Linked DNA regions of Homo sapiens: region 1 is linked to region 2. Evidence: promoter capture Hi-C in 16 types of primary human blood cells and fetal thymus (Javierre and others, 2016). All regions are on one chromosome and are shown on one strand. Each heading gives the region's core, a stretch centred on a gene start or on the middle of the fragment in contact. The rest is flanking DNA. Distances are from core to core; before and after follow the strand shown.

The links. The method cuts DNA at HindIII sites, captures the fragments that hold promoters and counts their contacts. A CHiCAGO score of 5 or more calls a contact.
Region 1: a contact is called between a fragment that was not itself captured here and the fragment with the promoter of GMEB1 in region 2, in 2 of 17 cell types (M1 macrophages and M2 macrophages). The highest score is 5.5, in M1 macrophages.

The regions. Positions count from the first base shown.
Region 1 is chr1:29,038,141-29,041,741 of GRCh38, reverse strand. It overlaps EPB41 (erythrocyte membrane protein band 4.1), which reads right to left. Exons shown (of 21, transcript NM_001376013.1): 11 at 2,316-2,488. Among named protein-coding and RNA genes, the nearest start is that of TMEM200B, 84 kb to the left of the region's middle. The HindIII fragment of the contact is 8,836 bases long and covers 1-3,601 here.
Region 2 is chr1:28,666,558-28,670,176 of GRCh38, reverse strand. GMEB1 (glucocorticoid modulatory element binding protein 1) reads right to left here and starts at 1,393. Exons shown (of 10, transcript NM_001319674.2): 1 at 1,338-1,393. RefSeq lists enhancers at 152-211, 262-311 and silencers at 842-1,131, 1,142-1,251, 1,282-1,421. The HindIII fragment of the contact is 26,935 bases long and covers 1-3,619 here.

The sequences.
Region 1 (3,601 bases), core at 482-2,981, 370 kb before region 2:
ATCCTTAACCTGTTCTATTAATAGATGGTTCTATTAAGATTAGACAATTAGTAAGATCCCTTTCATTTTACCACTGAGCTTCTTTTTTTTTTTTGAGACGGCGTCCCACTCTGCACACTATATATGCACATAACAACATGTATCTTGCTTTTACAGTAGATAGCATAGGCTTGTACACTGGTAACAAATAATAAAGGTAATCAATAATACCCTATTTGGATTATTGCCTTCTGAACTTATATCTTTTACTTTATTTTATTTTGAGACAGAGTCTCACTCTGTTGCCCAGGCTGGAGTACAGAGGTGCCATCTCAGCTCACTGCAACCTCTGCCTCCCAGGTTTAAGCAATTCTCGTGCCTCAGCCTCCTGAGTAGCTGGGATTACAGGCGTGCGCCACCAAGCCCAGCTAATTTTTGTACCTTTAGTAGAGGCAGGGTTGCGCCCTGTTCGCTAGGCTGGTCTTGAACTCCTGACCTCAAGTGATCCTCCTGCCTCGGGCTCCCAAAGTGCTGGGATTACAGGCATGAGCCACCATGCCCGGCCCTTCTGAACATTTATTTATTTATTTATTTATTTATTTATTTATTTATTTAATTTATTTATTTATGAGACACTCTCACTCTGTCTCCCAGGCTGGAGTCCAATGGCGCAATCTTGGCTCACTGCAGCCTCCGCCTCCCGGGTTTAAGCGATTCTCATGCCTCAGCCTCCTGTGTAGCTGGGATTACAGACGTGCGCCACCATGCCCAGCTGATTTTTGTATTTTTACTAGAGACAGGGTTTCACCATGTCAGCCAGGCTGATCTCGAACTTCTGGCCTCATGTGATCCATCCACCTTGGCCTCCCAAAGTGCTGCGATTATAGGTGTGAGCCACCGCACCCAGCCTGAATTTTTATTTATTAGCCACTCTTTTTTTAGTGACATAAGGAACTGAATGTAGCTTATTACCTCGTTTCAGTAATGGGCTCAAATGCTAACTTAGAAGATCCTCCCACAATATATCAATTCAGACAGGTCTTCTGTCAGTATATACAATCACGAAATTTGTGTATTTCCTCCCTATTTTATTTAAACATTTGGAGACTCCAACAATGGGATATTGGAGTTTCCTATCCATAATTGCCACGTGGCAAACTTCTTTTTAAATTATTCTTGTATGGCTGGGCATGGTGGATCACACCCATAATCTCAGCACTTTGGGAGGCCGAGGTGGGTAGATAACCTGAGGTCAGGAGTTTGAGACCAGCCTGGCGAACATAGTGAAACCCTGTCTCTACTAAAAATACAAAAATTAGCCAGGAATGGTGGCACACGCCTGTAATCACAGCTACTCGGGAGACTAAGGCAGGAGAATCACTTGAACCTTGGTAGGCAGAGGTTGCAGTGGGCCGAGGTTGAGTCACTGCACTCCAGCCTGGGCCACAGAGTGGGACTCCATCTCAAAAAATAAAAAAATTAAGAAAAAAAAAAAGATTGTTGTAGTAAGGCAGACCCTTTTCCTCTTTTCTACTATAGAAAATAGCTATTATTTATTTATTTATTTTTTAGAGACAGAGTCTCACTTTGTGGCCTAGGCTGGAGTACAGAGGTGCACACTGCAGCCTCCACCTCCTGGGCTCAAGCTATCCTCCTGCCTCAGCCTCCTGTGTTACCAGGACTGCAGAAAAATATTAGCTATTTTTAAATGCTAAGAGGCCTTCAGTTCAGCATACTACATTAGATTTTTACTCTCTGGTAGAGATTCTGATAGATTTAGATTTATAATTCTAATTCTGGTACTGTTTGATCCACCACTACCTAGCAGTGGAACCATGATCTAGTCACTACTCTCGGAATCTCAATTTTCCTTTTCTTAAGATGATTCTATTAAGATTAGACAATTAGTAAGATCCCTTTCATTTTACCACTGAGCTTCTTTTTTTTTTGAGACAGAGTCCCACTCTGTCAGCCAGGCTGGAGTGCAACGGCATGATCTCGGCTCACTACAACCTCTACCTCCTGGGTTCAAGCAATTCTCCTGTCTCAGCCTCCCAAGTAGCTGGGATTACAGGCATATGCCGCCACGCCCAGCTAATTTTTTGTATTTTTAGTAGAGATGGGGTTTCACTGTGTTGCCCAGGCTGGTCTCAAACTCCTGAGCTCAGGCAATCCACCTGCCCTGGCCTCCCAAAGTGCTAGGATTACAGGTGTAAGCCACTGCACCAGGCCCAACCCTGAGCTTCTTTAATTCGGTTCTCTTATAGATAATTGCACTTCCTTTATCTTTCCAAATGAATTATGATCACAAGAAATCATTAATATTCAATACAAACCTCCATCGAGGCTCCGGGACGCCCGTTTACTTGCTGTACGCTCGAAGTGTGGGGCAGGCCTGTCAATTAGAGCACTAGCTTGCCTGGTCTGAGCTTGAGTCCGGCCACTGTATCGAAATTTGGATCCTAGCGCAAGAAATTTGCTTTTGGGAATGGTGTCTGTAGATGTCAATCTGGGGGGAAAATCGTAATAGTCATATTATTATATATTCATCTTATTATTCTAAAACTGTAAAATTAAAAACAAAATCAAGAATAAAAAAGTTTCACAATTCTCAGGGTTTCCATATAGTTACTAAGAAATTTTCAATCAAGTAATCATTATTTTAGTTCTTTGTCATTTCTCAAAGCAACCAGTTGGGACCTATATTAATTTTATTTATAGCTCTATAGAAAGGGCCTTACAGTTTTCAAAATGTTTTTACAGCACTGCAGTATTTTTACTACATCCTTATAATGTTTTCCCCATTTTATAGATATAGGAAACTGAACCTCAAAAAAGAAGTTACTTAAGGTCACACAGCTGTTAGGACATTGGGCAGTAACAAAGTCGAAGCCCAGAGCTCTTTTTCCACTCTCCTGGAATGACAGTTTTGTCAAATGCACTCCAAACTCAATTAATGCCTGGTAATCTATTTAACAGGTTATTTGGTGTATTTTTAAACTCAGTTGGGAACCCCATCTTTTTCCTATATGGTACTCTATGTACTCTTTGTACCATACTGAATTAAAACAATCTATTTCTATGCTGGTCTCCCCTATAAGACTGAATTCTCTAGGAGTAAAGAACAAAGACCATGGCTTATTCATCTTTGTGTTTTTGCTTCTGGCATAGTGCCTGGCATAAATATGATATCCAATAAATATTTGTTGAATAAGGACATAAATTACTACATCAAATACTACCAAAAAGAGAGTATTTTTCCCTTTGAGGTAATTGATTTCAATTCAGCAAACATATACTTTTATGTAAGGGAGCATTAGATTTTAAGGTATTCTCTTATTTTGATGCAATGGATTTAAATATGCCATCCTACAAGTAAGTATACTGGCTGCAGCTGAAATCTATACCACAGTTATTAGACATTCAAAAATCACTTTTTTACTCCTCCTTGCTCTTTTTAAAAAATTCTACTTTTGTGGTTTGATTTTAAAGAAGGAGAGATGATGAAAGCATAAATAAATGTGTTAATGCCAATAATTAAGATTCTTTAATTGGGTGTAAAATGTACCCTCATGTTTTATTTTGAAATAATTGAAATATTAATTTCCTTGAATTTTCTTCT
Region 2 (3,619 bases), core at 144-2,643:
AAATAAATAAATAAATAAATAAAAAGGGTCCCCAAATGCACTTTGGTAACTATTAGAAGAGGCAAGGAGGAAGAAGATAATCCCTCAAGACTAGAATTATGTCTGACAGTCTCTTTTCCTAAAACCCGTCTTGATTGGCCTAAACAGACACCAATCAAGGCCCCATCTGTGTCTACTAGGAAGTGGTTTTGAGATTTCTCTCATCTTGAGAGAATCCAGGGCTGCGCCTGCTCTGCTGTCTAGGTCAAGACTTCACCCTCTTGTCTTGTGGATCATCCTCCAAAGACCCTCGGGTTGAGATTTTGCCTTCATCTCTCCTGCCCCTCAATTAGATAACACCTGGCCAATTCCTGTCATTTCAGAAAGCGGGAACACCTTAAGCATCTTTCCTCAACGATCTCTGCTTCTCTCAAAAAGATAGGTTTCTCCATCCCCTGACCGAGCGGGTTACTTTGTTCTCCACCTAGACATCAAGAGGCACCTAGACACCTTCCATCCCCTCAGGTTTGGACGCTGCTCTTTCGTACTTCAGGAGGCTCTAGGAGTCTTCCTACCACGCGCTCATCTGTGGGGAGACCTGGGCCTGCTCACTTCCCCTTAGAGCTCCTCTTCCTTCCCTGCCTTTGGAAAAAACCTGCCCTTTTTTCCCTTGTTCTGAGTGGCCGAGGCCTCTACCGCGCCCCTCGGGATAAGCTGGACTCTGCTCTCCTCAGAAGAACCCACTCTGTACTCTTGCTCTCCCGCCAAGGCTCCGAGAGGGTCTCCTCCCAGGCGGGCATCCGGGCTTCCAGCACCTATCGTCCCCCTCCCACTGGGCAGGACCCAGGCCTCCAACCAGCTCCTCATCCAAGGGCCCGGTGCTCCCCGGACCCCGCCTTTGGGGATACCCCAGGCTCCCCGGACCCCTCGATGGGGTCCTGGGCGCCTGGCCCTCTCAGTCCGGAGTCACTCCGGCCCCTCCTGGCCCCTGAGCCGAGTACTTCCGGGCCCCTCGGTCCGGGGGCGCCGGGGCCCCCCCAGTGGTGGACTCGCCGGTTCCCGCCGCCCTGGTCTGGGGCCCGAGCCCCGGCGGCGCGGCCGGCTGCGCTGGGGGCGGCCCGGCGGCTCGGGCGGACCCAGCGGCAGCGTCCCCCCACCCCCCCGCGGCGCCGCGACGTCCGCTCGCTCCCCGGCGGCGGCGGCGGCACGCACAGGGCGTGGGGAGGCGCCCGCGGAGGCAGCAGCCCCCCGCCCCCTGCGCGCCCGCCCGCCCTCGCCGGCCGCCGCGCGGCCCCCGCGCCCGCCCCCCCGCCCCCACCCCACCCCGCGCCCGCGCGCCCACCCCTCCCCCTCCTCACCGTCTCCGTCGGGCGGGCGGGCGGCGAGCGGCCAGGGCGGGCAGGCGACGGAGCATGCGCAGAGGCCGCCACGGCAGCTACCGCCACCGCCGCCGCCAGGCCGGGCTTCAACACTTCCGGCCGCCGCCGCCGGAGAGCTGGCGCCTTAAAGGGGACGCGTCCCTATTGCCGGTCCCACCGAGGATTAACCTTAGCCAAGGGATTTGGGCCTTACCTAAGCAGAATTCTTTCGCCCTTGAAAATCAGTGTTGGAAAGGTCGCTAGAGACCCCAGTAACTCTCCTTCCCGCACTCATAGATGAGGAAAATAGGCCCTAAATGAAAGAATCACCTCAACCACAATTGAGGGCCAAGCTAGCTTTCTCGACTCCTCTGGAGGACTCTACTCCATTTACCTCCCCAAATCCTGTTTTATGAAGTTTACATCTTATCGGACCCTTCAAGTTACAATCCAGCTATCAGTTTGCAATCAGAAGATCTGCATAGATCAGTAACTGGTCACGAGTCCTTGAGCAAGCCCTAAGCATTGTCTGACCCGTGCCTGTTTGCCAAGTTTTTCCTGCTTGTGAGTTTCTGGGTTGAAGTCTTGACTCCCCTGCTGGAAGTGTAAACGACTCTGGAGGAATTTCTTGACAGCTCTAAACCTGTTTCCGATAAGACATAATGTGAGTGCTAAAGAAGGTGATACCTGCATGAAAAGTGCTTCAGAGAGTTCCTGGGGTCAGTAATAGTAATTAACAAGTATTAAGACCTTTATTTTTTATTTATTTATTTATTTTTTTAGACAGAGTCTTGCTCTTTGGCCAGGCTGGAGTGCAGTGGCGCGATCTCGGCTCACTGCAGCTTCAGCCTCCTGGGTTCAAGTGATTCTCCGGCCTCAGCCTCCCGAAGAGCTGGCACTAGAGGCGCGCGACACCACGCCCGGCAATTTTTTTTTTTTTTTGTATTTTAGTAAAGACAGGATTTCACCATGTTGGCCAGGATGGTCTCAATATCTGACCTCATGATCCACCCGCCTGGGCCTCCCAAAGAGCTGGGATTACAGGCGTGAGCCACCGCGCCCGGCCGTATTAAGACCTTTCTATGGCCAGGTGTGGTGGCTTACGCCTGTAATCCCACACTTTGGGAAGCCGAGGCGGACAGATCACTTGAGACCAGGAGTTCGAGACCAGCCTGGGCAACATGGTGAAACCCCGTCTCTACTAAAAATACAGAAATTAGCCGGGCGTCGTGGCACGCGCCTCTAGTCCCAGCTACTCAGAAGGCTGAGCCAGGAGAATCACTTGAACCCGGGAGGCGGAGGTTGCAGTGAGCCGAGATCAGGCCATTGCACTCCAGCCTGGGCAACAGAGTGAGACTCTATCTCAAAAAACAAACAAACAAAAAGACCTTTCTATGGCCTATGGCTTGGTGAAGATGCTTCTGTCTTGTATAATCCTCACAGCAACCCTACTAAGTAAGTTTCTCTTTTTTTTTTTTTTTGAGACGGAGTCTTGCTCTGTCGCCCAGGCCGGAGTGCAGTGGCGCAATCTCGGCTCACTGCAAGCTCCGCCTCCTGGGTTCACACCATTCTCCTGCCTCAGTCTCCTCAGTAGCTAGGACTACAGGCGTCCGCCACTACGCCTGGCTAATTTTTTTGTATTTTTTAGTAGAGACAGGGTTTCACCGTCTTAGCTAGGATGGTCTCGATCTCCTGACCTTGTGATCCGTCCGCCTCAGCCTCCCAAAGTGTTGAATTACAGGCGTGAGCCACCGCGCCCGGCCCTTCTTTTCTTTTCTTTCTTTTTTTCTTTTTTTTGGTGGGGGGGACCGGTCTGGGTTGATCTCCCAGGCTGAGTGCAGTGGCGGGATCTCGGCTCACTGCAGCCCCAGCCTCCAGTGCTCAAGCAGTCCTCCTGCCTCAGCCCCCGGAGTAGCTGGGACCACAAGCAGGAACCACCATGCCTGGCTAATTTTTACATTTTTAGTAGAAATGGGGTTTTACCATGTTGCCCACTCTGGTCTCTAACTCCTGGGCTCAAGCAATCCTCCTGCCTTGGCCTCCCAAAGTGCTGGGATTACAGGTGTGAGCCACCATAATTGTTTGTTTATTGATTGATTGATTTGGAGACGGAGTCTCGGTCTGTGCAGTGGTGCGATCTTGGCTGCCTCCCAGGTTAAAGCGATTCTCCTGCCTCAGCCTCCCGAGTAGCTGGGACTACAAGCACGAGCCACCACGCCTGGTTAATTTTTTGTATTTTTAGTAGAGACGGGGTTTCACCGTGTTGGCCAGGATGATCTCGA